Linked DNA regions of Homo sapiens: regions 1, 2, 3, 4, 6 and 7 are each linked to region 5. The links are contacts of gene promoters, found by promoter capture Hi-C in human tissues and cell types (Jung and others, 2019). All regions are on one chromosome and are shown on one strand. The core of a region is centred on a gene start or on the middle of the fragment in contact, and the rest is flanking DNA. Distances in the headings are between cores, read along the strand shown.

Region 1 (2,700 bases), core at 175-2,674, 590 kb after region 5:
ACATAAGCAAGAACATACAGTTCCACAACTTGCTTCTCTTATTAAATGTTACATTTTTTGTGTAATATAGTTGGCCCTTGGCCTCTTATCCCTTCAGCTCCACATCTGTGGATTCAACTAACCTCAGATTTTCAACATTTGGGAAATGATGGTTTCATCTGTACCAAACACATAAAGTTTTTTCCTTGTAGTTATTCCCTCAACAATACAGTATAACTATTTGTATAGCATTTACACTGTATTACATACTAGGAGTAATTTAGAGATTAAAGTATACAGAAAGATATGCATAGATTATATGCAAATACTACACCATTTTATATAAGAAACTTGAGCATCCATGGATTTTGGTATCCATGGGGTGGGGTGCAGGCGGGGAGGCAGGCGGAGTGTGGGTCCTGGAACCAATTCCCTGATATGGAGGGATGGCTGTATGAATTTTTTTTCCTATCAACCTCTTATTATTAACAGTGGCACAATATTCCAGTGTATGGGTATAATGGTCATTTACTCTACCTTAACTCCATTATTGGACAGTTGTTTCTAATTTTTCTCGATCACAAACACTGATATAATGAAAAACCTTAAACATAACGTATTTGTATACTGTCCAAATTCATCTATACAATAAAATCCTAGCAGTGAAACTGCTGGATCAACAGAGCACATGCATTTTAAATTCTGTTTTAGTGCAGCCATCCTCCAAAAAGGTCCTAGCAAAGTACAGTTCCACCAACAATGCAAGTTATTTAAGGGCTATGCATTTAGGTGAACCTTTCCTTATGAACTAATATTTTATTAGAATCTCACTCTGTTGCCCAGGCTGGAGCGCAGTTGCACGATCATGGCTCACCGCAGCCTCGACTTCCCCAGCTCAACTGATCCTCCCACCTCAGCCTCCCGAGTAACTAAAACTACAGGCACAAGCCACCACACCCGGCTAATTTTTTTTTTTTTTTTTTTGAGGCGGAGTCTCGCTCTGTCACCCCAGCTAGAGTGCAGTGGCATGATCTTGGCTCACTGCAACCTCTGCCTCCTGGGCTCAAGCGATTCTCCTGCCTCAGCCTGCCGAGTAGCTGGGATTAAGGCATGGGCCATGATATCCGCTTAATTTTTGTATTTTTAGTAGAGATGAGGTATCGCCATGTTGGCCAGGCTGGTCTCAAACTCCTTACCTCAGGTGATCCTCCTGCCTTGGCCTCCCAAAGTGCTGGGATTACAGGTATTAGCCATCACGCCAGGCCAAATATAGACTCTCATAGAAGGTGAGTGAATGGTCAGTGGAGTTCCTTGTTAGGCCAGAAAAAATCTAACCGAGGCATCAGGCCTTGTGGATGGGCCTCAGTCAATTAACCCAACTGTTAAGAGTCCTTTCTATCTCCTTGAACTATAACACTGAACCCAGAATCTCTGCTTAGTGAGCCCACATCAATAAATTCTGCCTGATTCAACTTTATGTTCCTTCCACTGTTATACTATACCCCTAAGATCCATTGCCACAAATCAAATACTCCTCCAGGCTCCTGACTATACAGTGGCAAAACTATACAATCTTTTAGAGTGCAGCATACCTTTCTCATGGGTCACCTCACTCTCTGGGGCCTGCTGCAACTACAGTCCAGCCACAGATCTACAAGAAAGAAGGATTACAGGGCAGATTCTGAGGAAGACAGTACCGTGCTGGGCAACTACCCAAAGGGAGGCCAATTACAGGTTTTTCAGGCAAACGGAGATTAAGTTCCTCTGGGAAGGGTTGGAAAGGCTGCTTCTCCGGGAAAGGCAGCAGAGCAGCATTTAAGGATTTAAGGACTCCAGCTTAAACAGAATCTGACCATATGCCTCCAATCCAATTTTCAGGATTCCATTCCTACCAATCAATGATCTCACCCACAAATTAGGAATTACATTTGCATTTTTAGAGCAGTCACAGAAACCTTCGGGTCCCTTACGTGTAGCCTGAGCTAAAAATTTAAAAGCCTGAGCTGATCATTCTGCTTTGTATGGTTTGAACTTGGCTGAGCTGAACTACATTCCCCAGAATTTCCTTTCCTTTATGTTTCCAACTTGCATGGCTCACAAGAGATTTTTGTGCAGCAACTGAAGGGTGCAGAAGATAAAGCAACCACCCTGCAGCTTGCACACACTGTTGCTGCTCATCTTCTGACTCACCCCATTCGTGTGAGGCAGTGGTTGGCCTAGAATTGCAGCTGCATCCACTCCACCTTCCTCTGGGCTCTCCTTAAGCTTCTCTGCCTCCTGGGCTACATTTGCCAAGGATCCAACTCTTACAGGCCACCCACACAAGCAGGAACAAAGGCAACTAGAACTAGCATGGTTTCCATGTACCTTGCCTGTGGCTTCCTGTGTCCTCTTCTTCCCCACTTTACATCCATCTTCCTTTCTCAAATGACTGCCCTGTGGACTTCAAACTCCAGCATCAATCACAAAGACAACAGCCTGACAGAAACCGCTTAACGGCTGGGCACGGTGGCTCACGCCTGTAATCCCAGCACTTTGGGAGGCCGAGGCGGGTGGATCACGAGGTCAGGAGTTCAAGACCAGCCTGGCCAACATGGTGAAACCCCGTCTCCACTAAAAATACAAAAAAACTAGCCAGGCATGGTGGCGCACGCCTGTAGTCCCAGCTACTCGGGAGGCTGAGGCAGGAGAATCGCTTGAACCCAGGAGGCGGAGGTTGCA
Region 2 (2,849 bases), core at 56-2,555, 910 kb after region 5:
GGAATAATCTAGTGAAGATTAGTGATTGCCCAGGGTTAGGGTTGGGATGGGAAAGCCAGGGGCCAAAAATGATTAATATGAGGGATCCCTGGAGTGCTGGGAATGTTCTGTATCTTGACTATGCCAGCATCAACATCCTACCGTGATACTTGTTTTACAAGATGTTACCATTGGGAGAAACTCAGTGAAGGATACTCAGGATCTCTCTGTATTATTTCTTAAAACTGCAAGTGAGTACACAATTTTCTCTAAATAAAAGGTTAATTTTCGAAAAATGTGGTGCGATTATAAGTGTGTTTCACTTCATTCTTATTGTTTTATATATCCCAGCACAACACACATTTATATTTGCTTGACTCCATAAGTATTTGAATTTCTGAACTCTTCTAAATGACAATTAAAACAGCCAAATGATTAATTAAACCACTGAAAAGATGTTAGCTTCTTGTTGTTTGTCAAAAGGATTTATCTCTTTTATCTGTTTCACATGACTGAATCATTCCTCCATATACATATCGCTGAGAAGCACCGTATAAATTTTTTTAGAAGTTATATATAAATAACATTTGTTGGCCGGGCGTGGTGGCTCACGCCTGTAATCCCAGCACTTTGGGAGGCCAAGGTGGGCAGATCACCTGAGGTTGGGAGTTCAAGACCAGCCTGACCAACGTGGATAAACCCCGTCTATACTAAAAATACAAAATTAGCTGGGTGTGGTGGCGCATGCCTGTAATCCCAGCTACTCAGGAGTCTGAGGCAGGAGAATTGCTTGAATCCGGGAGATGGAGGTTGTGGTGAGCCGAGATTGTGCCATTGCACTCCAGCTTGGGAAACAAGAGCGAAACTCCGTCTCAAAAAATAAATAAATAAATAAATAACATTTGTTATTCAAAATTGGGATTCCGAAATGAGTTTCACTGAACATTTTATTACAGAATGATTAAATAGAAGAAGCAGATGGTACCATGGCCTTGAGACCCAAAGGATGGGGAAGAGACTGTTGCTTAGATGAAGGAATGACAGTAAATTAGATATTTCAAGTAGACAAAATTGCTTACAATGATGGGGCCTACCATTTGCAAGCAAGTACAACTAGAATCAAGCACTGAACAGTCTGTAGGATCACATATAAAGACTATAAAGAATAAAAGCTAAGTCTGCAAGCATAAAATGCTATCTTTCATTTTCATCTTTCCTACGAAACATAAAAGACCCAAATCAAAAATTAAACCCACAGCCAGTGAATTGAGCGAGTCATCTCTGCAGCTGAATAGGCCTTAGGTGATCTTGGTGAGCAACAAATGAATAATGAAACACTTGAAATGCTAAGACATTTGTATAATTATGGAACCTGCTGAGGAAGGAGCGGCTGTAATGAAAGCCACAGGGAAATGCAACGCAGAGCATTCTGGGTAATCCCCTAATCACACTTTTTAACGAGAGAGAAGTCCTTTCAGGCATGTACCTTTCATTCCTCTAGAAACTAAGTGCTGAATTTCCCACTAGAAAATTATTTAAATCAATGAATCAATGAATATTCTTTGGAATTTGTCTTTATGTAGAAAGACAAACGAAGGATAAATAGTCCAGAAAAATAATTAAGTCCCATCGTTTTTCATAAGGCTCTTTTTCCTCGTTCTGAACTCAAAGCACTTTGATCTAGATACACTATCGTACTCTCCAGTATAGACTCAACTTCCACCCAGTGCTCGGTGGGACGAGAGCCAATGGCCTTGGACACCCCGGCTGCTGGGGTTTGGTCTCCTCCAGCCCCCATCTGCCCTCTCATTGTCAGAGGCATTTGAACCAGAACAACTCCATCTTGAATAGGGGCTAGATAAAATAAGGCTGAGATCCACTGGGCTGCATTCCCAGGAGGTTAGGCATTCTAAGTTACAGGAGAGACAGGAGGTCAGCACAAGATACAGATCACAAAGACCTTGCTGATGAAAGGCTGTGGTAAAGAAGCTGGCCAAATCCTACCAAAACCAAGGTGGTGATGAAAGTGACCTCTGGTTGTCCTCACTGCTCATTATGTGCTAATAATAATACATAAGCATGCTAAAAGACACTCCCACCAGCACCACAACAGTTTACAAATGCCATGGCAACATCTGGAAGTTACCCTATATGGTCTAAAAAAGGGAGAAACTCCCAGTTCCAGGAATTGCTCACCCCTTTTTCCCGAAAACCCAAGAATAAGTCACCCCTTGTTTAGCATACAATCAAGAAATAACTATAAAAATAGCCAAGCAGTAGCCTTTGGGGCTGCTCTGCCTATGGAGTCATTGTTCTTTCATTCCTTTACTTTCTTAATACACTGGCTTTCACTTTATGGACTCACCCCAAATTCTTTCTTGCATGAGATCCAAGAACCCTCTCTTGGGGTCTGGATCAGGACCCTTTCCCAGGCACATCATCACCATTCAGGAGGGTTAGTCCACTCACATTTCCAATCCCTGCTCCAACTGACTGCCAGCCAGAAAGGAGCTCCCAGTGTCTCACACGTCATTCTTGACATCTTACCTCCTTCACGAAAACCATTTTAACAGACAGGAAACGAGACCATAGAACTTATTGCCTTCTTCTCTGCAACTCACCCCAACACCTCTCGTATCTTTATCTTTGTCCCTGCTGCAAAGAATACAAATATATATATTGGTTGAGATGGCATGTGCCTCTAGTCCCAGCTACTTGGTGGGCTGAGGTGGGAGGATCTCTTGAGCCCAAGAGTTTGCGGCTGCAGTGAGCTATGATCGTGCCACTGCTCTCCAGACTGGGTGATAGAGCAAGACCCCATCTCTAAAAAATAAATAAACTAAAAGTTTTAAAAAAATCAGTGGCGTAAA
Region 3 (3,059 bases), core at 450-2,949, 570 kb after region 5:
CAAAGTAGGCAGATCACTTGAGCTCAAAAGTTCGAGACCAGCCTGGCCAACATGGCAAAACCATCTCTACAAAAAACACAACAAAAAATTAGCCGAACATGGTGGCGTATGCCCTTGGTCCCAGCTACTCGAGATGCTGAGGCAGGAGAATCACTTGAACCCAGGAGGCAGAGGTTGTAGTGAGCCAAGATCACACCACTGCACTCCAGCCTGGATGACAGAGTGAGACCCCATCTCAAAAAAGTACAATAAATAAAGAAGATCAAGAGCTTTTTATTAAAAAAAAAAAAAAAATACATGATGTAGGCTGGGCACAGTGGTTCACACCTGTAATCCCAGCACTTTGGGGGACCGAGGTGGGCAGATCACCTGAGGCCAGGAGTTCGAGACCCGGTCTCTACTAAAAATACAAAAATTAGCCAGGTGTGGTGGTGCATACCTGTAATCCCAGCTACTTAGGAGGCTGAGGCAGGAGAACTGCTTGAACTCGGGAGGCAGAGGTTAGAGTGAGCCGAGATCGCACCACTGCACTACAGCCTGGGTGACAGAGCAAGACTGTCACAAAACAAACAAACAAACAAACAAAAAACCCACAAACCATAATGTAGTATTTCCCAATTTTAAAAAACATCCCATGACTCCACTCCCTTTCTGTGCTATTTACAGAATGACTTCAAAGATCAAGAAAAAAAATTCTGCCTGAGCCACTGCACCCAGCCAGATTAAAGAAATTTTAAAACTACATAAAATCAATTTATCCTAACAAATTCATTCAATGAAATGAAAATTTTAACTTACTGATATTCTGAAGTATGTACCCTCCTATCAGATTTAAGCTTATCTTAGCAGTATTTTCTGCTGTTTTCCACTTCATTAAAATTTCAAGTTGAACTTGTTAATAAACTAAAAATTTAAGACAGGAGTAGAAGGAAGAGTCGCAGTGGGGGAAGGATACATGGTGGCTATTTGAATAATATTAGAACGCAAAACTCCAGATAAGAGTCCTTCCCTCAGCTGGGTGTGGTGGCTCACGCCTGTAATCCCAGCATTTTGGGAGGCCGAGGTGGACGATCACCTGAGGTCAGGAGTTCAAGACCAGCCTGGCCAACATAGTGAAACTCGGTCTCCTCTAAAAATACAAAAATTAGCCAGGCATGGTGGTGGGCAGCTGTAATCCCAGCTACTCCAGAGGCTGAGGCAGGAGAATCGCCTGAACCCGGGAGGCAGAGGTTGCAGTAAGCTGAGATAGTGCCACTGCACTCCAGCCTGGGCGACAAGAGCAAGACTTCATTTCAAAAAAAAAAAAGAAAAAAGAGTCCTTCCCTCATGTTGAGATGTAATCTAAAAAATAAAATAAAATTTTAGAGTCCTTTCTCTTTTTTGAGTTGCAAGTAATAAATAGTTCAACCACCTGATCTTATCCTAACTCCTGTTAAGACCAGAAAGAAATGCAGAGACAGATCAAAAGGAAAACACTAATGAGTGCTAACTAATGAAAACCCTGGTTTTAACAGCTGCCATGTAAGGCTTTCAAAATTCAGATGAACTAGAGCTTTTCTAAAACAAATCCCACTCTTCTTTGACTGGAAAAGGCTAAATTTAATTTGCTCAGGTTTTTTTAAAGATATACCATCTTCACCTTAAGTTATTCTACTAAGTGATTAACTTTGTAAATGAAAACTGAAGGAAAAAACTGAAGGAAACAAAAAAATTTTAGATTCAGAGTTAGCATTATTTCTAGGTTAGCAGAACCTTCAAGTGTTACGGAAAATATTGTCAAATGGAGCTTTATTATAAGGTCATTAAGAAGAAGGTCCTGCATTCAGAGAGACCCATCAATAGTTGCTAAAACTATCAAGAGAAAGGTTGCTGGAGAACAATAATTGTACGGTATCAAAACAAGTAACTCCACAGGTTACTCGTTAATTATAAAGGGGAAAATGTTACTGCTTTACAATGGAGCAATCTTGACCCTTCACTACAACGGAATTGAAAGATAAAACAATTTGGCATCATTAAAAGGGAATCAACCTTGCTTTATTCACTTCTTAATGTGATATGACGCAAAGCAGACTATATCACTTATAAAATACTCGTCAAAAATGTTTTACCTCCAGGTGAAATGTGGCAATATAAAATATATTAAAAAAAAAATCTAGTCAAGCTTTTAGATCGAATTTCTAGTTTACAGAAATACAGGTGATGCAGAAGCAACTTAGACAACACCATGAGGAAACAGACAAATTAGAAAGGTGGACTTTGTACATGAAAAGTGGGCCATACTCTTCAAAAAGTCAGTGTCAAAAAAGAAAAATGGTAGACATACTGCTCTAGACTAAAAGAGACTAAAGACTCAACAATAAGACACAATGAATAAACCCTAAACACACGGTTTGTTGGGGCGGGGGGAGGGGGCTGGCGAAAGCTACAAAAGACACTTAAGGCCAGGCACAATGGCTCATGCCTGTAATCCTAATCCTTTGGAAGGCTGAGGAGTAGATCACTTGAGCCCAGGAGTTCAAGTGATCAATCAACACAGTAAGGATAGCTGTGGGTGGTGGTGCACATCTGTAGTACCAGCTACCAGCTACTCAGGAGGCTGAGGTAGGAGGATCACATGAGACCAGGAGGTTAAGGCTGCAGTGAGCCATGATCGAGCCACTGCACTTCGGCTTGGGCAACTGAGACCCTGTATCAAAAGAAAAAACACACAGACACACACACACACACATTTAAGACAACTGGGAAAATTTAAATGCAGACTAAACATTAGATATTGTAAGATTATCATTAAATTTTAAAAGCACAACAAAGACATTGTGGTTATGCCTGAGAATATATTCTTTGGAAACATGTTGAAATGCTTAAAGAGGTAGACTCACAATTTCTGTAAGTTAACTTCAAATAATTCAGGGAAAGAAAACAATACATACATGAGGGTTAACATAAATATCAAAAGACAAAATTACAATAATGTGGTTTAAGGATCTTAAACAGCTTTATTTACGATTCTAGAATCCAGCAACACTTTGTTCCATAAAATAGAATGAGCATCCAAT
Region 4 (2,821 bases), core at 89-2,588, 790 kb after region 5:
TTTTTTTTTGAGACAGAGCCTCACTCTGTTGCCCAGGCTGGAGTGCAGTGGATCAATCTCTGTTCACTGTAACCTCCACCTCCCCGGTTCAAGTGATTCTCCTGCCTCAGCCTCCCGAGTAGCTGGGATTACAGGCACGTGCCATCATGCCCAGCTAATGTTTGTATTTTTAGTAGAGATGGGGTTTCACCATGTTGGCCAGCCTGGTCTGTCTTGAACTCCTGACCTCAAGTTATCCACCCACCTTGGCCCCGTGAGCCACCACTCCAGGCCAGAGATCTGATTTTTTAAAAATACTCATCTGTTCCCTTGCCATAATGGCATTTAAAAATTTTGAATGTTCTTGTTCCACAAATGTCATTCTCTACGTTATCAATTTGAGGATTCAATATTTTTATCAGGTCACTTTAGAATTCCTACCGTAAGGTTTTGCATGGGGTGTGTGTATGAGTGTGCAATTGTGATCAATGTGAATTACACACCTACAATTGTACGGTCTGTATGCAGCAGACCTGGGTTTACTATTGTCACAATACTAGACATTCTTGTATGTTTTTTGCAGTTCTTACATGTGAGTTTATCTTCTGTGGAAATTTTACCTTGTGGACTCCCTCAGCTGTGGTTGCCTCCCTGAGAAGTAATTTCACATTGACCCATAGGGTACATAGATTCCAACCAGATCACAGGTTAATGACGGGTTCAGGGCTCCTGTGGATGAAGCTGATGCAACCATGTTCATGTGAATGCACCTATTTCCACCCGTGACTGGTGCAGAGGCATTTCAACTCCTAATGAGCCAGCCCTGCACCCAGTTTGGGTCCTGAATACAAGACTCTCCCAGGCTCAACTCTTGTCCCTGTGTGATATTGGGCCCTACCCTTTCTCCTGTTTCAATCTCCAAAGGGGAATTTTTTTAAAGGTGTAGAAAAATAGGGGAAAAATGAACTCATAGATCTCAATCTTGGGTTTGCTAAGAATATTTTCCTAAAAATATGTATATCCTTTTTTAAAAATATTTATACGTTACTAAAGCAAAAAGAAAGTGTTACTTTCCCAGACATGCTAACTTCCCAGCAAATAAAGCTTTGGCAGATTGGCAAGTTTTGCAAATAAACAGGGACCATTCATCATGAAAGATGACAAGCATAGACACTCAAGATACCAGTTTCTAAAACAATGTCTAAACAACGCTTGAGTAAATTACTAACTTTAAAAATATATTTAATTTAAAAATTTCACAATTCGCATGAAGATGGCTTCTTCTTATTAAGAAACGTTAAAATCTTTGTTTTAATTTCTATTGTGAAATTAAATAATTCAAACTTCAAGTTGTTGGAACTTTAAGTTATTCTGAGCCTTGAGACAAATGTGGCTATGCAGCCTGAGTCACGTGCAGCGGCAACTTCCGCCTTTTTTTCCCCCTGTGAATAATTAAGAAGACCAAACAGCACGAGAGAGAAGACCTCCTCAGATCACCATCCCTCCTCATTGAGTAATAAAGTAATCTTCCTTGGCACGTAGCAATCTGTGACCAATCAAATTGCTTTAATGTATGCACTGGTCTCCTATAGAAAATGTTGTAATCCTCTGAAAATGTCTTTGTCTCTGTCTGTAAAAGTGAAACCTTAACTTCTCCACTTGGGAATGCTGACCATATTCATTTGGAGCTGACGCTTCATGAGTGGCTATCCTCAAGCTTTGCACTCGAATAAACTCTATCCTTAGTCATATTTTCTGAATCTCATTATTTAAGGTTGACACTATTTATGAGAAAAAGATGAAACAGAAACAACCGCAGCCAAGGTGAACTGGTCAAAACTGGCTAAGGTCGTAAAATAAAATAGAACTTTTACAACATACAGATGTGAATTAATAAAGTTTAGGCATCTCAGCTGAGAATAGAAGATTTGTATCTGAAGTCTCACAAATCTGGGTTTCATCAACTGCTTCAACTCAGTAAACATTGCCAGGGATTGCTCTAGGCACAATGCTGTGCTTGACAATGGGCATGCAAAGGCGACTAACATGTGCCCTTTGCCTCCCAAACAGCTACTTTTTAACTGATCAACCTCAAAAGTGCTAAACCTGGGATCACCAGACATTCTGCAGTGCAACTGGAACTTTCATGCTAAAAAAATTCAAACCTGCGTCTAAACAAGCCTCTAAATGTAAACATCAGCTTACAGGAAATACAAGAAGCAAAAGAATGTGTTAGTTACACCATAAGAATGCAATTCATCAAGATCCAGACTGTGGAAAATTGAGCAGACCAAACATATGGCCTGAAAGCCAGAAAGAAGAAGGGGAAGTATCACATATTGAAAGAGCTTAAGAGATTTATCAAATGCACGATGTAGACTTTGCATAGAGCCTATTTGAACACACCAACTGCATAAAGTTATTTTTGAGAAAATTTTAAAACAAACTGGGTATTAGATGAAATCAAGAAATATTAATTTGGGAAAGTATGATAATGTGCTGTGATTAGGTTTTTTTTAAGTGCTTATTTTTAGACAGACGTGATACATTTAAGACTGAAAACCTGGAATTTGCCTTAAAATGATCCAGAGAAACATTGAGTGGTGAGGAGAGGAAGGGGTGGAGAGTAGATAAAACAAGATTGGCAAAATGTTTATACTTGAAACTGGGTAATAAATACGTGAAGATTCATTTTATACTTCCTTTATTTTTGTGTATGTTTGAAAATATTTATAACAAAATGTTTGTAGAAGTAACACACAATTGAGTTTGACTCAGCAAAGGAAGGAAAGAAGAAAGGAAGGAAGGAAGGGAGGAAGAGAGGTAGGGAGGGAGGGAGGGA
Region 5 (2,952 bases), core at 7-2,506:
ATCCTTGTTAGTCATGTATCTGCAGAGCATAATCCTTCCCTTGTACTTTCTAGGAATTATATTTTTCTTAACTATGCCTGCAAGATTTTCATCTATGAATAAAAAACATTGAAAAGATAAATTATGAATATGTGGTTATATACAAAGTCTGTGACTTCTAATGTCCAGATTTTAGAATGATGCCTAATTCTGGAGGTCTCAGAGGTCCAAGTGGGAGTGGGTACCATGAATGGGGGGGCCTCCATTTAAAAGTAACCTTCTAAAGAGCTCTCTGTTCCTGTAGCTCCCCTTTCCTTATTGGAAGGGTCAAAACGAAGTGTGTTCCCTTAAAAATCCAACAAGAAGTTCCTCTCTTATATCCAAATATAAAAACACCACAAAGAAATATACCATTGGGAGTGTCCAAAGCCAGAAAGTCAGAGGAAGAGAGAGAGAGAGAGAGAGAGAGAGACTGACTATTGGGAGACTCAAAAAGCCCAAAGCCCCTTCTCTAGCTGTTATCTCAGTTACGAACACAACGTACTGATTTTCCGTGGGAACCTCATTATTGCACTGTGGGGACTTCGTCTTCCAGCACCGATTCTGACGGCCCTAATTGCCTTGTTTGAGAAATGTTAGGAAAAAACTAATTTTCCGGCGAATATTGTTTAAAAGAATGATTTTCCCAGGCTAACGACCACAACCCTCTCCCACGTCCAGCATCCCCAGGCCCTGGCACTGTGGAAGCCTAACTTGTTAATTGTCCAAGGAAAACGACTGATGGAACTTCTCCACGAACAGCCTCTCCACTTTCATCCAGGTATTCAGCTCCAGCCCGTTGTAAACGCTCCGGGTGCGGTGGAAAAGGCCTCCTCCCTGTTCCTGCAGCGGCTCTGGGGGAGGGGTGCTGATGTGGAGCGCTCCGGCCGCCGTGGCGCGCCCAAGTCCCCGTCGCGCCCGGGATCGGTGGGGATTTTGTTGGAAAGGTGGGTCCTTCGGCCCCCAGCCCCCCACCCTGGTTCCGCGCCCCGCCCGGGCCCGCCTCTCACCTCCGTCGGCTGAGGGCGCTGGGGCCACCGGCATCCTAGCGGGTGGCGCGCGGCGGTGCCGGGGCGCCCGGTCCTGCGCTCGAATGCCAGATGGGCTGGGAGGCCCGGCAGTCTCAGCGCTCGCGACGTCGTTCCCGGGCCTGGGGTCCTGCTCGGTCGCGTCCTGCAGCCGCCTTCTGGTCCCTGAGTCCCTGTTGCCCGTCCCCGGAACCGGCTTCCTCGGCCTCTGCCCGAGCGAGTCAGAGACTAAACTTTTCCAGCGGCCCGCCGGGGCGGGACCCGCGCTCCGCCCCTCCCCTCGCCGCCCCCGACTCCCGCCCCTCTCCCCGCCCCCCTCTCCCCGTCCCCCGCCCGCGAACCCGGCACTCCTCCAGCTCCCCACCTCCCGCTCAAGCCGCCTGGTCTCCGTGCGCCCCGCCCGCCCCTAGCCTGGACCCCTTCTCCCCGACCCTACCAATCCCCTAGGGTCCGGCTCGCCCTTCGGCCCCTGTTCCCAGGCCGGCCTCCAGACCTTGTCCTCATCGGGCGAGCTCCAGGTGCAGAAACCGGGCGCCCAGAGACCCAGCGGGAACAGGCTTGGAACCAGGTCCGAGGTCTGGGCTTGGGCGGGCGCCTGTCGCCCTGACAGCGAGGGTTTGTTTGGGCCGATTCTTAATAGGAGGATTAATACTATCATTATCGTTGTCCAGATCCTGACCATTTCTTTTGTAACTGGCCGAGCACCGGCTTGGGCTTGCAGGTGGGCGCCTGGCGCCGGACAGCGTTTTTGTTTGGGCTTCTTCCTTTTCCGCGCGGGTCCCCTCCGGCGCCTGCCTGGTCCCTCTCCGCGCTCTACCCCCAGGCACGCAGAGACTTGGGCTCCAGGCGGGGGCAGCACTCTCCCCCAGCCTCTGCTGGTGCACCAGAGCCCACTCCGGCACAGAGCAGCGCCCCTCCTAGACCGGCAGCCAGCAGATCTCAGCCGACCCCCATGCGACCCCCTTCCTCACGCGGATTTGCCCCTTTTGTGTGGCAAAAATAATAATAATAATAATAAATCCATATGAAGGCTTCAAACAGAATTCCGAGAGAAGGAACTGCCAAATTTTCAATCAATGCCAAAGGCCATGATTGAGCGAACACAGAAACAACTGTAGAAGCTTGGGGAGAAAGGAGAAAATTAAAGAAAAAGGAGGAGGAGGAAAAGGAGAGAGGAGAGAAGCGGGAGGAAGAAGACGAAAAAGCAAGGAGAGGCCTGTTATCCGACCGTGCATTCCTGGGCCGGCAGGATTGGGCCGCAGGGGCCGCTGCAGAGAGTTGAGTTTGTGCAAAGGCCGCTCGTTACTTTCTGTCTTTTGCCCTCTTGCCTCCAGAGGATCAGCCCAGCGCATCCTTCTCTTGGAGCAGGGTGCATACGCTTATTTGGGGTGCAGTTTGAGCGGTGAAGGGCACCAAGAGTGGAAGTCGGCGGCACTCCTGTTCCCTGCAGAGAAACGCAAGCCCTCAGCAATTGAGCTGAAGGAGGCAAGTGACTCTGCCTGCTGAGGCTGCCAGCCCTAGAGGCTCTGGCCCCCGGGAGCTGGGGTACTTCCCAGCGTTTTCGCCTAAGCCACTTCGCCTGTGCTACTGTGGAGTCTTCCGGCACTGTAGCCTTCCAACTTGTTCAAAGTGCCTGGTGCACGGCTCTGAGAAGCCACTTCTGTCCCAAGTTTCATGTGGGCCTGAATGTGCTTCCCTTTGTTGGACTCCTACAGCATCAAGTCAAGAAAAGAAGGAAACATGCTCCTTTGGCATTGGTCACAACCAGGATAACAATACAGCATACTGTGGCCACTGTGTCTATATTACCAAAGTGGTCAGTAGGTTCATCACACCTCTGTTCAATTAGTTGCTTCCCGTGATGAAAAATTTACTGCTAGGATACTGGCTGAGGGTTGTTTTAAGG
Region 6 (3,038 bases), core at 5-2,504, 620 kb after region 5:
TATCTTATTAGTATAGGAGAAGTTGATCTCTTTTCATATATTTAAAAGTAATTTGTTCCTAAGGAATCCTCTAAAAAACTCTTAGAACTAACAGGCCAGATGCGGTGGCTCATGCCTGTAATCCCAGCACTTTGGGAGGCTGAGGCAGGCGGATCACCTGAGGTCAGGAGTTCGAGACCAGCCTGACCAACACGGAGAAACCCCATCTCTACTAAAAATACAAAATTAGCCGTGTGTGGTGGCACATGCCTGTAATCACAGCTACTCAGGAGATAGTGCCATTGCACTCCAGCCTGGGCAACAAGAGCGAAACTCTGTCTCAAAAAAAAAAAAAAAAAAAAACTCTTAGAACTAATAAATGAGTTCAGCAAGGTTTTAGGATGTATGATCAATATATAAAAATCAGTTGTATTTCTATACAGTAGCAATGAACAAACTGAAAATGAAGTTAAGAAAACAATTCTACTTATAACAGATTCCAAAAGAATAAAATAATGTTGAAGGTAATTAAAGTCCAAAATAAGTTTAAAAGCATCCTATATTCATGAATTGAAAGACAAATTCATAGAGACAAATTATATTGATGCCTAGGACTGGGGGGAATGGGGAATTGAGGGGTAATGGCTAAGGAGTACATGGTTTCTGAAACTGCCTTTGCAAAATTACTTAAATGGCTACCAGACATTATTCCAGAGGTCACAAGATTAGCAACTTCCCCAATTATTCCTGTAAATAACATCACTACGTAGACCCTAAGATTGGCGTTTTGAAATGTCTTTCCAGACTTTGCATTTTTTACTACTAGATAGCCCCACCCAGGCCCATGACTCAGCCAGTCCTGGGGCACCCACCAAGAAGCCGACTCAGACATAAGGATCATTTTCCATACCCCTATGATTGAATCCTCAACCAATCATCAGCACCTATAACCTCACTCCCTGCCCACCGAACTATCTTTAAAACACCCTAACCTTTAAGCCTTTGGTAATATTGATTTGAGTAGTAACTCCGTCTCTCATGTGATGTGACCAGCCTCACATCAATTGAAGTCTTCCTTTACTGCAATTTCGTGGTCTCAGTGAATTATTATAATTTTGTCTTTGCAATTGAAACCATCTTTGTAAAATTATGACTGAGACAGTGAAAGAGATCTAACCTAACCAACTCCATCTTGCTTCTAATCTCCAAGCTGTCCTTGTTCATTCCTGGGGGTAGGCTGAACTAACTTTGGGAAAAACTTAATTTATAGTTTATAGTTTAAAGTTTATAGTTTAAAACAAAGACCCTAATAGTCCTTTTCCCAAAGCAGACCTCCTTCTTGCCTGGGGACTAGACTGCCTTTGTAGGACTAACGTTAGCCATAAGATTAGAAATTATGGTTTAGGAGTCATGCAGCTGGAGGCTACAAGATTCTGACCCTCTCTAAGTTGCTCCTAAGATCAGAGCTTGAGATATTTTGCAGACCCTGCACTTGATGTGTCAGCTGGCTCCACCCAGATCAATAAACTGGCTCATCTGATCTTATTTTCCCCAACCAGGAACTGACTCAGTCCAAGAAGACAGCTCTCACTCCCAGTGATTTCATCCCCTACCAATCAGCACTCCCAGCTCACCGGCTTTTCCCAACCCACAAAATTGTCCTTAAAAACTCTGCTCCCTGAATGCTCAGGGAGACTGATTTGAGTAATAATAACACTCTAGTCTCCTGGACAGCTGGCTCTGAGTGAATTACTCTTTCTGTATTGCCATTCCCCTGTCTTAATAAATCAGCTCTGTCTAGGCAGAGGGCAAGGTGAACCCGCTGGGCAGTTACACAATGGGCAGGAAGAACTTGTCAAGTGCTTACATTTCTTTCTGGAGTAATAAAAATATTCCAAAATTGATTATGATAATAGATGCATAAGTATGAATATATAAAAGCTGAATTGTATGATTTAAATGAGTAAAGTATATAGTACATGAAATGTATCTCAAAAAAGCTGTTAAGAGAATAAAACAAAAAAAATTGGAAATTTATTTCTTGTAAATTGTCCATGTTGTGGTCTAATCTATTTGGATTTTGTCTTTTTTCCTTGATTTACAGGAACTCCTTACATGTTGAAGAATATTAGTCTGTTGTCACATATGTAGCAAAATTTTTAACCAATTTTTTATTTCGGTTTTTATTTTGTTTATGGTATTTATTTTCCTGCAGTGGTGCAATCATCAGCTCACTGTGTCCTCAACCTCTAGGGCTCAAGCAATCCACCCACCTCAGCGTTCCAAGTAAATGAGGTCCCAGGCACATAACATCATGCCCTAGCCAATTTGCTATTTTTTGTAGAGAGGAGGTCTTGCAGTCTCAAACTCCTGGGCTCAAGTTATCCTCGTGCCTTAGCCTCCTGAAGTGCTGGGATTACAGGCATGAGCCACCATACCTGGCCTAAAATTTGTGTATAATCAAATTTGGCACTATTTTCTTACACTGCTTCTTTAGTTTTTACAATGTTTAGAAACATCTTTCCCATACTAAGATAATGCATTTTTCTACTCTCATGTTCAGAAACACTTGAACACTTTGAAACATAAAAGTTTAAACACTTTTATGTTTAAAAACTTCAAATTATAGAATAAAACCTTAAGCACTGGAGAGGATTAATTTTGATTTTGTCTTTATTTATTTATTTCTGAGACAGAGTCTCTGTCGCCCAGGCTGGAGTGCAGTGGCACACGATCTCAGCTCACTGCAACCTCTGCCTCCCTGGTAAAAGTGGTTCTCATGCCTCAGCCTCCCAAACAGCTGGGAATACAGGCGCACGCCATGATGCCTGGCTAATTTTTGTATTTTTAGTAGATACGGAGTTTTGCCATGTTGGCCAGGCTAGTCTCCAACTCCTAACCTCAGGTGATCTGCCTACCCTAGCCTCCCAAAGTACTGGGATTACAGGGGCAAGCCACCAAGCCCAGCCTATTTTGTCTTTTTTTTTTTTTTTTTTTTTGAGACGGAGTTTTGCTCTTGTCACCCAGGCTGGAGTGTAATGGCACAATCTTGGCTCACT
Region 7 (3,066 bases), core at 506-3,005, 680 kb after region 5:
CTACTAAAATACAAAAATGAGCTGGGTGTGGTCGTGCATCTGTAATCCCAGCTACTCAGGAGGCTGAGGCAGAAGAATCGCTTGAACCCGGGAGGCAGAGGTTGCAGTGAGCCAAGATCACACCACTGCACTCCATCTAGCCTGGGCGACACAGCGAGACTCCATCTCAAAAACAACAACAAAAAAAACAAAACATAAAAGAATGTTGCTGAGCTGACAAGTCTTGCACCCCTGAGAGCTGGAGAACACCTCCGGAAGTGTTTAATTAAGGCTACATATATGCCAAAGCATTAGAAAAGCCAATGGTCAAGGGAGGCTGGAATTGAAAGAACAAGTCTGAACTGAGTCCTAATAGGCTGTAGAGGAACTCAGCTGGGATTTGAGGACTGCATTCTGAGTTAGTGATTCCTGACACAGGTTTCCTGAATCTTTTTTTTTTTTTTTTTTTTTTTTGAGACGGAGTCTCACTCTGTTGCCCACGGTAGAGTGCAGTGACACAATCTCGGCTCACTGCAACTTCTGCCTCCCAGGTTCAAGCAATTCTCCTGCTCAGCCTCCTGAGTAGCTGGGATTACAGGTGCTCGCCACCATGACTGGCTAATTTTTGTATTTTTAGTAGAGACAGGGTTTCACCATGTTGGCCAGGATGGTCTTGAACTCCTGACCTCATGATCCACCCACCTCGGCCTCCCAAAGTGCTGGGCTTACAGGCATGAGCCACCACACCCGGCCTCCTGAATCTTTGAAATGCTACTTCTGAGAGATACTCGGAAAAAGAAAGAAAGAACAAGAAAAGACAAAGAAAAAAAGGATTTGGGGTCAAATAAGTAAAATGTAGAGTCACAAGGAATTTCCATTAAGAAGACTAGACTGAACTGAAATCACTTTCCAGTTGTCATTCAAATGTCTGCTTTATAGAGATATGAAATTGTACAAATTTAAAATAAGGATGAAGTGAGGAAATGGCCAAAGGCACTTGGCAAGCTAGAGTTTAGGCATGCTGTTAGCCCTAGAGGCAGTGAGGAACAAGTATGAAAGGGAGGTAGGGAAAGAACCCACTGGTTCCAGGGCGACTGCTCCTCCTCCACCTCCTGACATCAAGGCAGTGAGCCTGATCTCAGCTCTAGGCGGCCTGACCACCCAACAGGGGTACAATGGGGGTACAGGGCTCTGGAGAATATTTTTTACAGGGATCTGTCTGCATACAAATGTTGACTAATCAGTGTATTACAAGATTCTTTGGCCCTGTGTGAGGTATGGTGACCTATGGCTAAGGCTCTGGAATATTGGATAGAGGAGAGGCACTTCTCTATTTCTTGCTTATCCAGTCAATGCATGTGAAGTTTCCTAATAGCGCCCCAGCGTGGTCTGTTTCCATTTAGGCCCAGGAATCATCGCTCCATGTTCTGTTTGGCCAAAACACCCCTCCTCCATGACTTCCTATGTCCCACTACGAGATGAAGGTAGCAAATAAACCTCCGCCATTTATGAAAACGTCATCACCGTGTGACAGAGAAACAGCAGCTGTTCGACATTATGACCCAGAGATGTAGAAAAAGGGGAGATTATGTTTAATATAAATACTTCATTATCTCTAAAGTATTTCTTTGCCGAACAATGCACTAAGTGTTTTCTTCCTCTTCCAGTCTCTGCTTAGAACTTATCAACTTTGTGGCCGGGCGCAGTAGCTCATGCCTGTAATCCTAGCACTTTGTGAGGCCGAGGTAGGCAGATCACCTGAGGTCAGGGGTTTGAGACCAGCCTGGCCAACATGGCAAAACCCCATCTCTACGAAAAATACAAAAACTAGCTAGGTGTGGTGGCAAATGCCTGTAATCCCAGCTACTCGGAAGGCAAGAGAATCGCTTGAACCCAGGAGGTGGTGGTTGCAGTGAGCTGAGATCACACCACTGCACTCCAGCCTGGGTGACAGAGTGAGACTCCATCTCAAAACCCCGTCTCTACTACAAATACAAAAAAAAAAAAAAAAAATAGCTGGGCACGGTGGTGCATGCCTGTAATCCCAGCTACTTGGGAGGCTCAGGCAGGAGAATCACTCGAATCCAAGAGACGGAAGTTACAGTGAGCCAAGACAGCGCCACTGCACACCAGCCTGGGCAAGAGAGTGAGATTCTGTGTTTGAGGGATCTGAGCAATTTGATAGTTGTGAGTATTTCTGAGTATCGCCCATGCTGATGGACACATCAGCTGTATTTCAACGTGCTTTGCATGTGATGTCTTATCAGTAAAAGCCTAGCACTAGATATTAAGCAATCTGTGTGAGTCTATTGTAATTAGGCCCCCTCTTGTTTGAAAAATAAAATACACAGTGAGAATCACTACATTAGATTTTGAATGCTATGAATTTAAGTGTGAATATCCTGGTTGTTTTTTGGCTCACCACTGAAGTTATTCAAATGTGATAAGGAAATTGGTTCCCAAAGTGGGAAAGGATCAAAACCATGGAAATGAAAGACGTAATGAGAAACACAGGTGTATTGCTTGGAGACCGCCTAACACAGTTTAGTTGCCAGCCTAACGGGCTAAATTTAGAAGGCAGGAACAAAGCTTGTTTCTTCTCTTGATTTGTGGGATAAAATGGGTCACTGGGCATGAAATAATCAAAATTGCAAGTGGACCAGAACGGCTTCTATGTTATTTGGAGCTTGCCTCCAGGCCTGGGGCCTCCCCTCATGGACCTCAGTTTCCTTATCTAGTTTTTTTAAATTGCGGAGTGTTCCAGCATTGTTCAAGCCTAAGAATGCTCAGAAACCAGAGAACCTCTTTCTTCATGGGAAATTTTTCTTCTCAGAAGTAACCAAAACAGATGAAAACCACGGCTATTCTGGTTGGAAGGTGGTGGGGACAGGCATTTTCCCTCAGCTTTTCATCCTGTGTGGTCCTGAGTACTGGAAGAACCTCTAGTTCCTAAAAAAGCACCATCTGAAAATCCTGGGATGATGTAAGGAGAATTGGCTTTTCCATATCCTCCAAGCTGCATGTTGTTCTGCTTTCTGTTGCTCATGGCAGACCACCCAAAACCGAGTGCCAGGTTTTGGTCAGGAG

Evidence for each region. The method cuts DNA at HindIII sites, captures the fragments that hold promoters and counts their contacts. A contact is called where the count stands out against the background at its distance.
Region 1: a fragment that was not itself captured here is called in contact with the fragment with the promoter of S1PR3 in region 5 in 3 of the 25 tissues and cell types used here (dorsolateral prefrontal cortex, lymphoblastoid cells and mesenchymal stem cells).
Region 2: a contact is called between a fragment that was not itself captured here and the fragment with the promoter of S1PR3 in region 5, in 1 of the 25 tissues and cell types used here (dorsolateral prefrontal cortex).
Region 3: a fragment that was not itself captured here is called in contact with the fragment with the promoter of S1PR3 in region 5 in 4 of the 25 tissues and cell types used here (dorsolateral prefrontal cortex, heart left ventricle, pancreas and 1 more).
Region 4: a contact is called between a fragment that was not itself captured here and the fragment with the promoter of S1PR3 in region 5, in 1 of the 25 tissues and cell types used here (aorta).
Region 6: a fragment that was not itself captured here is called in contact with the fragment with the promoter of S1PR3 in region 5 in 1 of the 25 tissues and cell types used here (dorsolateral prefrontal cortex).
Region 7: a contact is called between a fragment that was not itself captured here and the fragment with the promoter of S1PR3 in region 5, in 2 of the 25 tissues and cell types used here (mesendoderm cells and thymus).

What each region holds. Positions count from the first base shown.
Region 1 is chr9:88,399,108-88,401,807 of GRCh38, reverse strand. All of the region lies in intron 1 of SPIN1 (spindlin 1), which reads right to left. Among named protein-coding and RNA genes, the nearest start is that of SPIN1, 12 kb to the right of the region's middle. The HindIII fragment of the contact is 9,312 bases long and covers 1-2,700 here.
Region 2 is chr9:88,084,180-88,087,028 of GRCh38, reverse strand. No RefSeq gene overlaps it. Among named protein-coding and RNA genes, the nearest start is that of LINC03026, 7.7 kb to the right of the region's middle. The HindIII fragment of the contact is 5,231 bases long and covers 1-2,849 here.
Region 3 is chr9:88,420,962-88,424,020 of GRCh38, reverse strand. All of the region lies in intron 1 of SPIN1 (spindlin 1), which reads right to left. Among named protein-coding and RNA genes, the nearest start is that of SPIN1, 34 kb to the right of the region's middle. The HindIII fragment of the contact is 4,331 bases long and covers 1-3,059 here.
Region 4 is chr9:88,197,298-88,200,118 of GRCh38, reverse strand. No RefSeq gene overlaps it. Among named protein-coding and RNA genes, the nearest start is that of SPATA31C2, 60 kb to the right of the region's middle. The HindIII fragment of the contact is 3,061 bases long and covers 1-2,821 here.
Region 5 is chr9:88,989,772-88,992,723 of GRCh38, reverse strand. S1PR3 (sphingosine-1-phosphate receptor 3) reads right to left here and starts at 1,256. Exons shown (of 2, transcript NM_005226.4): 1 at 1,029-1,256. RefSeq lists a silencer at 1,416-1,710. The HindIII fragment of the contact is 13,055 bases long and covers 1-2,952 here.
Region 6 is chr9:88,371,035-88,374,072 of GRCh38, reverse strand. No RefSeq gene overlaps it. Among named protein-coding and RNA genes, the nearest start is that of SPIN1, 16 kb to the left of the region's middle. The HindIII fragment of the contact is 7,070 bases long and covers 1-3,038 here.
Region 7 is chr9:88,308,823-88,311,888 of GRCh38, reverse strand. No RefSeq gene overlaps it. Among named protein-coding and RNA genes, the nearest start is that of SPIN1, 78 kb to the left of the region's middle. The HindIII fragment of the contact is 7,995 bases long and covers 1-3,066 here.